Regions from separate parts of the Homo sapiens genome. Here region 1 is linked to region 2. The links are contacts of gene promoters, found by promoter capture Hi-C in blood cells and fetal thymus (Javierre and others, 2016). All regions are on one chromosome and are shown on one strand. The core of a region is centred on a gene start or on the middle of the fragment in contact, and the rest is flanking DNA. Distances in the headings are between cores, read along the strand shown.

Region 1 (5,274 bases), core at 2,507-5,006, 1.0 Mb after region 2:
GACCAACGGGATGGAAAGGGTGGAGGTAGTCCTCTCTTCCCCTCATTCCTTCCTTCTCGTCCTCCTGGAAGGCTGGTTCTCTATGTTAGAAGAATCTGAACTTTCCTCTCTGCTCGCAGGCCGAGGAGTCGCCCCCCATCGCGCACAGCAGCTAAGGTTGTGCACTGCATCAGGGCGCGCGGCTGACGGAGCAAGGGGCAAACTGAAATCCAATTCTCGCTCCATTCGCCAAGTTGTGAGCCTCGGAGTGGGAACAGCGGACACCACAGAGTCAGGTGTCCCCTGTGCCCGTGTGGACAGAGTGGGGATCCTCAGCTACTCACCAAAGCTTTGTTCAATGCCCACTTTCTGCTGACCCCTCGCTGGATGATCCTGGAGACTCAGTAATGATGAGACCATCCTGCGCCATGCATTCATGGGGCTCCCAGTCTAACTGGGAGACTGACACAAGAGTGACCCACGCCTGTTGTCCCAGCTACTCGGGAGGCTGAGGTCGGAGGATTGCTTGAGCCCAGGAGTTCGAGGCTGCAGTGAGCTATGCCTGGGAGAGAGTGAGACCCTATCTCTAAAAAAAAGAAAAAAGACAGCCCAGAGTGGTCAGGGCTGTGATGAGGGAAGCAAGGGTACAATGATCAAGCCTGGAATCAGGGAGCCCTAGAGGGCCCTGGGAGTCCAGAGGAAGCAACCACCCCTGCCTAGGGAGGTCAAGAGAGCTTCCTGAGGAAGGGGCTAGCTGAGCTGAAGCATGAAGGATGAATGGAAACAAGCCAGGCAGAATCACAAATACACGCCTCTATTTAAGAGGAAATTTTTCTTTCTGCGCCCCCCCGTAAGTCTCTCCACTTCTGCCTCCAGCCAGAACTCAGCGCCTTCCTGACAGCCTTTTGGAGGGCAGCCCAGAGTCCTAACCCCATCCGACTGGCAGAGGAGTGGGGCTTGGGGCTCAGCTCAGACATGTCCCAGCTGGTTCTATTAAAGAGCTGGCAGATCACCGGGCAGAGCCCAACTTGGGGTTGACAATCCAGAAGCAGAGGCACCTGATAATAGAATCAGTAACACAATAGGTGCCAGTGATCGAAGGCTTACATTCTGCCAGGCCCTGTGGACACCTGAACTTGCACTGAATTCTCAACCCCGTCCCAATATAATTCCCACTAAACAGATGAGAAAATTTAGGCTTAAAAATGAAGTAGTCATTTGAGACCAGCTCGGGCAACATGGCAAAACCCCATCTCGACAAAAAATACAAAAATTAGCCAAGTGTGGTGGCATGCGTCTGTAGTCCCAGCTACTCGGGAGGCTGAGGCAGGAGGATCGTTTGAGCTCAGGAATTAGAGACTGCAATGAGTTATGGTCGCACCACTGCACTCCAGTATGGGTGATAGAGTAGACCCTGCCTCAAAAAAATAAAAAGTAGTAGTCACACAACTGGTAAGGGGTGAACATGAGGCCAGCAGGAAGCCAATGAACTAATGAACTTGCTTTTTTTTTTTTTTTTTTTTTTTTTTTGAGACAAGAGTCTCGCTCTGTCTCCCAGGCTGGAGTGCAATGGCACAATCTCGGCTCGCTGCAACCTCTGCCTCCTGGGTTCAAGCAATTCTCCTGCCTCAGCCTCCTAAGTAGCTGGAATTATAGATGCCCGCCACAACACCCAGCTAATTTTTGTATTTTAAGTAGAGACAGGGTTTCGCCATGTTGGCAAGGATGGTCTCAAACTGACCTCAGGTGATCTGCCCGCCTTGGCCTCCCAAAGTGCTGGGATTACAGGCGTGATCCGCTGCACTTGGCAGTACTTGCTTTATTAATTAAATATATATACATAAGGCTGGGTGCGGTGTTTCATGCCTGTAATCTCAGTGCTTTGGGAGGCCAAGGCAGGTGGATCACCTGAGGTCAGGAGTTCGAGACCAGCCTGGCCAACATGGCGAAACCCTGTCTCTACTAAAAATACAAAAAATTAGCCAGGTGCGATGGCACACGCCTGTAATCTCAGCTATCGGGAGGCTGAAGCAGGAGAATCACTTGAACCCAGGAGGCAAAGGTTGCAGTGAGCCGAGATCGCATCACTGCACTCCAGCCTGGGCGACAGAGCAAGACTCCATCTCAAAAAACAAACAAAAAAGCAATAAGAAAAAAAAAAACATTTATGGAAGAGATGTATCTGGAGCAACCAGAGCAAGAGAGGGCTGAGGATGAGGAGAAAATGGTGTTGGAGCCCAGGGGACAGAGGCTAAATCAGAGGTGAAGAAGAATGCGGGCATTTCGCTCACAAAAAGGAACCACAGTGGAGCCAGCACTCATCACTGAGAAACCAGGAGCAGCCCTTAAGGTCTCCAAAAAGACAACGTCTCAGAGGAGGAAGAGGAAGCCACAGCGATAGGGTCACTTGCTGACATCCTTCCGGATGCGCTATCGCTGCGCAGAAGTAACTTCCACCACTATGTTTTCCTGAGATAAGTCGGGGAGTCTGAGAGGGAGAGAAGGGGGGAGACTGAGAGTCAGAGAGAGGAGAGACTAAGGACGCTAGGTGGGCAGGGCTCTTCACTTGCAGGTGCGCCTGTGTGCTGTGAGTTGCTGGGGGTTGTAGAATGCTTTTGGTGGACAGAGGGAACCAGGTTGCAATGTGAGAACATTTTTATGAATTTCTGGGAAACTGCCTTAAGATCTATTCCAAGAGAGACACCTGGTTCTTCTCACCTAACTTGTTGGGTTTCCTTTTCTCACTCTAAATATTCACTTTAAGGCCGGGCACTGTGGCTCATGTCTGTAATCCTAATGCTTTAGGAGGCTGAAGCAGGAGGATGGCTTGAGCCCAGGAATTCGAGACCAGCCTGGGCAACATAGCAAGATCCTGTTTTGACAAAAAATTTAAAAATTAGCTGGGCATGGTGGTGCATGCCTGTGGTGCCAGTTACTGGGGAGGCTGAGGCAGGAGGATCACTTGAGCTCAGGGGGTCCGAGGCAGCCTGGAAAACAGAGGAAGACCCTGTCTCAAAATAAATAAATATTTACTTTAATACCTAAGGGATGTCAAAAATTGTATAAGCCCCTACAACTCCAATTAGCCCCTCAGGAACACAAATGTTTCTCTTTTCCTTGCTCCACAGCCTTTTCTGGCTCTCCAGTGCTCTCAATGACCCAAACTGAACGGCTGTCTGCAGAGAACTGCATTTCCCATCGACCTTTTCGCTCGATATTTACATTTTAAAAAATGTTTTGTAGCGATGGAGATCTCGCTGTTGCCCAGGCTGGTCTCGAACTCCTGGGCTCAAGCGATCCTCAGCCTTCCAAAGTGCTGAGATTACAGGCGTTAAGCCACTGAGCCTGGCTAAATTAAAAAAAAAAAAAATTGTAGGGATGGGGCGGGGCGAGGGTCACTATGTTGCTCAGGCTAGTCTCGAATCCCTGGGCTGAAGCAATCCTCCCGCCTCGGCCTCCCAAAGTGCTGGAGTTAGGGGCGTGAGCCCCGGCAAGGGGCAGACACTCATTTTCTGTCGTGGCAGACACCGCCTCCTCCTGGGATTGGTCCCGGCCTCGCCCTCCTGCCACTCAGGCCTTGACTCGCTTTACTGCATGAGCCCAGTAGCCCAGTCTCCGCCTCTTACGTAAGGCACCGCCCAGTCGTCCAGGCCTCCGTGAAGGGGGGGGCTGGAGGGGTCGGGGGGGTGGGGGCGAGGCCTTCCCTCAATCCTGACGTCCATTGGCTGTCTCTTCGCCGGCGGGGCGTGGGTACGGGAGCCGGGCGGGCACGCTCCGAACCGCGGCTTAGGTGGCGGCGGCGAAGGATGCACCCGGCAGGCTTGGCGGCGGCGGCTGCGGGGACGCCCCGGCTGCGTAAGTGGCGTACGTGGCCGGCGGAGGAGATCGGGCGGGCGGGGGCGTGGCGGGGCGGCCGCGTCGGTTGGCGAGGTCACTGCAGGTCAGAGGTCACGAGATCAAGGATCTGGAACCCTGAGGTGTGCACAGCGCTGGGATGCCAGGTTCGGGTAGGAGGCCCCTTGGGGGGCGATTCTTTAGGAAATTCCTTTAGAAGAAAACAACTTGGGACTGGATAGCGTGCGATATGCAGAGAAATGCAACTTTCATTCATTTGCAGTTAGCGATCCGCCCTTCCCTGCTCCCCACCCTTCCGTGGCTCCCCAGTACCCGCCTGCTGTCGCCCACACCCTTAGGACAGCTTCGTGGCCCCCCGGGAGCGCAGAGGGCCATGCCTACCGCTCATTTAAGAAGCGAACCTGTATTGTGCTGTTGGCCCCCTTTTCCTGTCTCTTCATCTCCGTGAGTGTGCTGTGTGTTTCATTTATTCATTCAACCTAACTTGTCTCAACTCCCATGTGTCAGGCCCTGTGTTGGGATGGAGATGTTGTGGGAGCCCTGAGGAGGCACATGACCCAGCCTAGGGGTGTCAGTGAAGCTTCCTGGAAGAGGATACTTCTTTTTCTTTTTTTTTTTTTTTTGAGACCTAGTTTTGTTCTTGTTGCCAAGGCTGGAGTGCAATGGCGCGATCTCAGGTCACCGCAACCTCCGCCTCCCGGGTTCAAGCGATTCTCCTGCCTCAGCCTCCCAAGTAGCTGGGATTACAGGCGCAGGCCACCACGCCCGGGGTGGTATAGACGGGGTTTCTCCATGTTGGTCAAGCTGGTCTCAAACTCCCGACCTCAGGTGATCCGCCCGCCTAGGCCTCCCAAAGTGCTGGGATTACAGGCGTGAGCCACCGCACCCGGCATGGAAGAGGATAATTCTGATCATGAAAAGTTACCCAGGAGAAGGAGATTTGTAGTGAGAGGGCAGGCTGGGCGTGCTGGCCTACACCTATAATCTCAGCACTTTGGGAGGTCGAGGTGGGCGAATCACTTGGGGCCAGGAGTTGGAGACCAGCTTGGGTAACAGCAAAATCCTATCTCTAATAAAAGTACACAAAATTAGCCGGGTGTGGTGGCGAGCACCTGTAATCCCGGCTACTTGGGAGTCTGAGGCTTGAGAATCACTTGAACCCAGGAGGCAGAGGTTGCACTGAGGCGAGATTGCACCAGCCTGGGCGACAGAGCAAGACTTCGCCTCAAAAAAAAAAAAAAAAAAAAAAAAAGAGGGTGATCCACCTGCCTTGGCCTCCCAAAGTGCTGGGATCACAGGCATGAGTCACGGTGCCCAGCCAACCAGCCTGGCCAACATGATGAAACCCCATCTCTACTAAAAATGCAAAAAAATTAGGTTGGGCGCAGTGGTTCACACCTATAATCCCAGGATTTTGGGAGGCCGAGGTGGGAGGATCAC
Region 2 (5,459 bases), core at 2,791-5,290:
GCTGGCAAATACAATGCAAATGGAGGAAATCTGTCTTCTTTCATCTCTATCTTTTGGGTGAAGAGAAGAGATACCATGGGTGAGAGATGAGGAGGCTTTGTCTTTGACCCATTGCTTAAGCTGTTTCCTCTGCCTGGGGGCACCATCATTGTCCCAACTCCCATGGAACACTATCCAGCCCAAATACCACCTTTTCTGTGAAGTCTTTCCAAATAAAAGGCTCCCTCTCACTGCTGAATTTCTACAGCATATAATTTGTACCTCATTTTCTGCTCTGTACATGCCCAAGCCCCCTACTGGTATTGTGAGCTCCCTGAAGGCAGGCCCCAATATTTACCCTGGGGTCTCTGTTTCCCCTTCTGGGCCCTAGAAACAGAATCCCTTGAAAAAATGCCAAGAGCTCTGTGGAGGCTCCAGACTTAGCAGCTGAGAGGGGCTGCTAAGAGAAGCCAACCAGGACGGGTGAGGCAGGTCACCAGGCAAAGGACTTGGGGTAGCTCAGAATCAGGAAACAGCACAAAGAAAGTCCCTAAGACAGGAGCAAGTAGGGCAGGAGTAAAGGCAAAGGGTGCTGTGTGGAGAAAAAAAAGGGAGGTGAGAGGAGAGGAGGGGGCAGGGAAGGTGTACTAAACCTGAATGAGGAGTGAGATCTGAGGAACTTGGAGATTTCTGGCCAAATGCAGAAGGAAGAGCTGCTTATTCTCCAGTGATTTCCAATAACTTACAAAGAGTAGATCCCACCTTGTGGGATTCAGAGAAGAACAAGACACATCCCGTACTTTCAGAGTTCCTAGTCCAGTGAGGGTGAGTGGACAAGTACATTAAAATCTACAAGGTTGAAGGTGAGTGGTGTTCTAAGAGGTACAATGGAGGTGGAGGGGTCTTGGCAGTAAGACACAGAATGAAAAGACCTCCTGAGGGTGCCTCAAGGGGAGGGTGCCTATGTGAAGAAACAGATGGACAAGAAGAGATGGATATGTGTGTTCAAAGAAGCAGCAATTTAAAGAAGCACCAAAGGCTGGTAGTGGGCTGGAGGGGTAGCCAGAAAGAGAAAGCACTGAGGAAGATCTGAAAAGAAACCATTCAAAAGTAGAATCGGAAATAACTGCTCAGAGGATGGAGTAACCTTGTGGAGAAGCCAAGATCCTTTCAAGGTAGGTAAGAAATCTTTCTGGAGGATGGGTACTTCATAAAGGGGATTCCTAGGAAACAGGAAAGCAGCAGTGGGCAGTAGGGCACAGAGGCATACCCTGAGGCATCTTTCAGGGGGCTTTTAGTGAGGAAAAGGAAATCCTCCTAAAGGGCACAGGTTCTCAAACTTGCGTGTGCATCAAAATGACCAGGAGGGTTTGTTAAAAACTCTTGATTGCTGGGCCCTGCTCCCAGGTTTTCAGTTTCAGTAGATCTGAGTGGGATTCAAGAATGTGTATTTCTAACAAATGTGGCTGCTGCTGGGCCAGGAACCACACTGAGAACCACTGCTATAGGGGAAGGGATTATTTGGTGAGGAGGTCCTCAAAGGGGAGAAGGAAGAAGGCTTCTGAAAGGGAAATGGGGAGAATCCTAAGTCTCTAAGGAGGGTGTTAAGGGTCTCTTGATCTCTGAAGGGAAGAGGGGTCTATGAGCATGGCACCTAAGAAAAATGGTCTGAAAGAAAGATCTCGGAGCACTGGGATTTCAAGGGGGCGGGGAAAGGTGTCTCTCAAGAATCTTTACAAGGAAACATAGAGGCTCTTGGGCAACGAGTCTGGAGAATGTTGGGGACCTCTGAAGGGATAATGGGAAAAGGGGGCCCCCTGAGAAAGGTCTCTGAGTTGACTTCAGAGGAAAGAGAATGGGGAAATGAGAGGGTGTAAATAGCAATTCTAAAGTTAGTGGGTAAATCTGATAGGGTCCTAAATAATGTTTCTTGGGGATGTCAGAAGTGGAATCTGAGGGAAAGTTCTGAGGAAGTCTCAGGAAGCGCTGGGAGTGGGTGGCTGATGGAGGGCAATTTGGGAGAAAATTCTCTAAAAAGTGTCTGAGGAAGGTGTGGTCTTCTGAGACTGGTCCTGGAGTGGGATGACAGAGGGATGTTTTTAGGAAAAACTCTTCAGAGATCTCAGTTGAGGAGAAAGCTGAGTAAAGTCTCCAAAAGAGTATATGGGGAAGGCGGGGTCTTCTGAGAGAGTGTCAGAGGAGAGGGTTTTTCAGAAAGAATTATAGGACTTTCTCAGAGCAAGAGCTCGGGTTATTTTGGGGGAAAATTAGGTGTGTGTGAGGGTCTTCTTCAAGGGATTCTAGAGGATTTAGGGGACCTGTGTGAGCAAGTTCAGGGAGGGATATCTCTAGAAAAGTCCCTTAGTAAGGCAGAAGTATTGATTCAAGGGGTTCTGGTGGTGTCAGGAAGGTCTTGGAGGGATTTCAAGAACATACGTCAGGAGGGCTCCAGGGGGTCGCTGGGGTCTCTAAGCTGTGTGTGTGTGTGGGGGGGGGGGGTCCTGAAAACCTGCATATCAGAGGGGTCACCAAGAGAATCTTACGGTCTTACAGGGGTTGTGAGGAGGATCTTCAGAAAATTCCTCTAAAACCGGTCTGCAAGGGGGGATTCTGAGGTGTTAGTGAAGGGGAGTTCTACGGGATCTGAGAGAAAAACCATGAGGAAAGTTTTCAGGATCCTTAAACAATTTTTGGAGCGTGTGATGTGGGGGACTGGAAAAGATGTGGAGTATGTAAAAGGGATTTTGGAAGAAGCTTTTGGAATATGATGCTGAGAGTCCTCTGGAGATTTCAGGCAATTGCTGGAGATTTTTAGAATGAGTGGGGGTGGGGAAGGGGATCCCGGTGAAGATCACTGGGCTACATGAGGGTGATCTCTAGGGCATTTTAGGGTGGTGAGACCAGGGGGAGACAGGAGGCCTCTGGGGGAGACTTTTGGGATCTGTGGAAAGGTCCAGAGGGATACGTGAAGGGGGAGTGTGTATGAGAGATGGTTGCAATACGGTGGGGAGGGGGATGGAGTCTTCTAGGTGAGTTTTTGGGATCTGGGGGCATTTCACAAAGTCTGTGAGGAAGATTTATTTTGGGGATATGGGAAGGAGATCTTCAGGGAAGATGATCACGGTCCGTCGGGGGCATTCTGAAGGACTTCTGGGAGGGGGAATCAGAAATGCAGGGGGTATGAGCGGAAAATCTCCAAGGAGGTTTCTGGAATGGGGTAAGTGGGAGGGAAAATTCTTAGGATCCGGGAGGGGGAAGTCGGGTGAGCCTGTTGGGCTGTGAGAGGCAGGGCTCCGGGGGAGAGTTCTGGAATGGACAGGGGTCCGGAGGGAGCCTTGGGGAGGTGTGCAGGGCTCGTGAGGGAGGCTCCTGGAGCAGCTATGAGAGCCACGCTGTGGAATGGACGAGGAGTGGCCTCCGAGGACTATTTCTGGAGACAGGAGGAGGACGGGGGCTTCGGGGCCAAAGGGCGGGGGTCTGCGAGGAAAGCTGCTGGGACCCATGAAGGGCTCGAGGAGGCGACTCCACGGGAGGGGTGGGTTTTGCGGGGACCTTTCAGGGCGCACACGGGGGATCGGCAGGCTTTCCGGGGCTCTCCGAGGGGGATGTGCGGGGGGTCCTGAGGAGAGGCCCCCGGCCCGGCCCCTCGGCAATCCCGAGGGCATGAGAAAGATTTCGGAGGGAAGCTTCGGCCAGGGCCCAGGAGGGAGACTGGGGACGGGCGCGGGGCTTCTCCCGTGGGGCCCGGCCCCCCGAGGCCCGCGTTCCGCACCCGCCCGCCGCCGCCGCCCGCGGTTCGGGGTCCCTGAGGGGGCGGGGCCGCCCGCGCGGCCTGGGTCGCCCTGAGGGGAGCCCCGCGCGCCCCGACTCGCCGCCGCCCCGCGCCGGCCCGGCCCGAGACTCACCGCCTCGGCCTTCGCCGCCACCGCCGCCGCTCGGGCCTCCTCAGGCCACCGCCGCCGCCGTCGCCCCCTCTCGGGCCCGCAAGCTCCCCTCCCTCCTCCCGCACCGACCACCGCCGCCGCCGCCGCCGCCGCCGTCGCGCTGCGTCACCGCGCCGTGCGTCACCGCCCCTGGCCCCGCCCCGACGGGGGCCGCCGCGCGCCGGCATTAGCTCACGCCCGGGTGACGAACGGCGCGCCAGCCAACGGGCGGCGAGGGCAGCCCGAAGGGCGGGAGGTGTGAGCCGAGTAAGGCGGGGTCGCGGCGAGGGGGGAGCGACGGTGGTGGAACGGGGCCCAAGAGGCCCGCCCCCTCCTCGGCGGGATTGGTCGGACGTGGGGGTGACGGGCAGTCGGCCAGGCCTGGGGTTTGGGGCTGGGGGGCGGGGAAGGGGCGGGGCGCGCGGGGCGTTGCCCAGGGCAACGGGCCCGGCGGAGTCTGAGGTTGGGCCTCCAGGCCCGCAGGGGGCAGGCTCGCGCGCGTCCACCCCAGCTGCCCCGAGCGAAGTCACAGTTCCTGATTCAGGCGTTCCAGGCCTCCTCTTCCCCGCCCCTTGGGTGGCCCGCCTCACCCAAGGCTGTCCTCAGTGGGCGTCTGCACTCGGGCTTCTGGGCGCTCGGCTTTCTCATCGCGCTGTTCTCAGCCTTGCCGCTTGCTCTCTCCGATGGGAATGGCGAGGCGAGATCTAGCCTTTAGGGTGGGAAGAGAATGCACAGAAAGCGCTAAGGATCAAGGAGGCTGTCAATAAACGGGAGTTGTTGCTGTGACTTTGGTTGTGATCTGTGCGTTCCACAAACTGTATTGGGTCCGGGTGAACTAATCAGAGGGACCTGTGTTCAGAAGGCTCTCGGTGACAGAGATCTGGCTTGTTACAGGCACTTAGAGAGGCAGTCGGGATGGAGGGTCGAGTTGAAGACAGGGAGGGGTGAGGAACGAGCAGAGGCCAGTTGTTTGGCCACTTGAGGGAGTTTGGACTTGTCCCGAGGGCACTAGGGAGCCGTGAAGGGCTTCAAGCCGGGGAGGATCATGGTGAGTCTGGGGTTTTGGAGAGATGTCTCTCTGGCTTATACATGGAGGGCGGATTGGAGGGAATGAAACGGGATCGGGAGTCCAGGGAGGCAGCTGGGGGAGGGGGTGGGGAAGAAAGAGGGGGTTTGCACGAGGGAGGGACTGTGGGGAGGGAAGGAGGTGCAGGTGGGAGGGACGCCCTGGAGGCAGAGCGAACGGGCCCTGACACTGGCTGGCTATGGAGTGGAAGGGGGAGAAAAGTTTAGGACCAGGCCCCTCTAGCCGGGAGACTGGGCGCCAGAAGCAGGTTGGGAAGATACTAAGCCCAATGTGGATGCCTAGTAGCGAGGTCCAGGAGGTGCACAAACCCTGGGTCTGGAGCTTAAGGGAGAAATTGAGGCTGGAGACCAAGATTTAAGGATCGTCAAAGATGGTAATTGAGGCTGTGGGAGTTAGGGGTCTAGCCCGGGGAGGGTATGAAGGGTCACTGGAGACAGGGACTGAACAGAACCCTGAAACAGAGAGGCAGG

Evidence for each region. Contacts are between HindIII fragments. The CHiCAGO score rates a contact against its expected background, and 5 or more counts as called.
Region 1: the fragment with the promoter of YIF1B here is called in contact with the fragment with the promoter of SAMD4B in region 2 in 4 of 17 cell types (total CD4 T cells, total CD8 T cells, fetal thymus and 1 more); the score reaches 7.7 in total CD4 T cells.

The regions. Positions count from the first base shown.
Region 1 is chr19:38,314,429-38,319,702 of GRCh38, reverse strand. It overlaps YIF1B (Yip1 interacting factor homolog B, membrane trafficking protein), which reads left to right and starts at 3,756. Exons shown (of 8, transcript NM_001039672.3): 1 at 3,756-3,843. The coding sequence starts at 3,786. RefSeq lists an enhancer at 1-30 and a silencer at 3,432-3,921. The HindIII fragment of the contact is 4,086 bases long and covers 331-4,416 here.
Region 2 is chr19:39,341,002-39,346,460 of GRCh38, reverse strand. SAMD4B (sterile alpha motif domain containing 4B) reads right to left here and starts at 4,040. Exons shown (of 14, transcript NM_001384574.2): 1 at 3,885-4,040. RefSeq lists a silencer at 3,922-4,351. The HindIII fragment of the contact is 6,593 bases long and covers 3,668-5,459 here.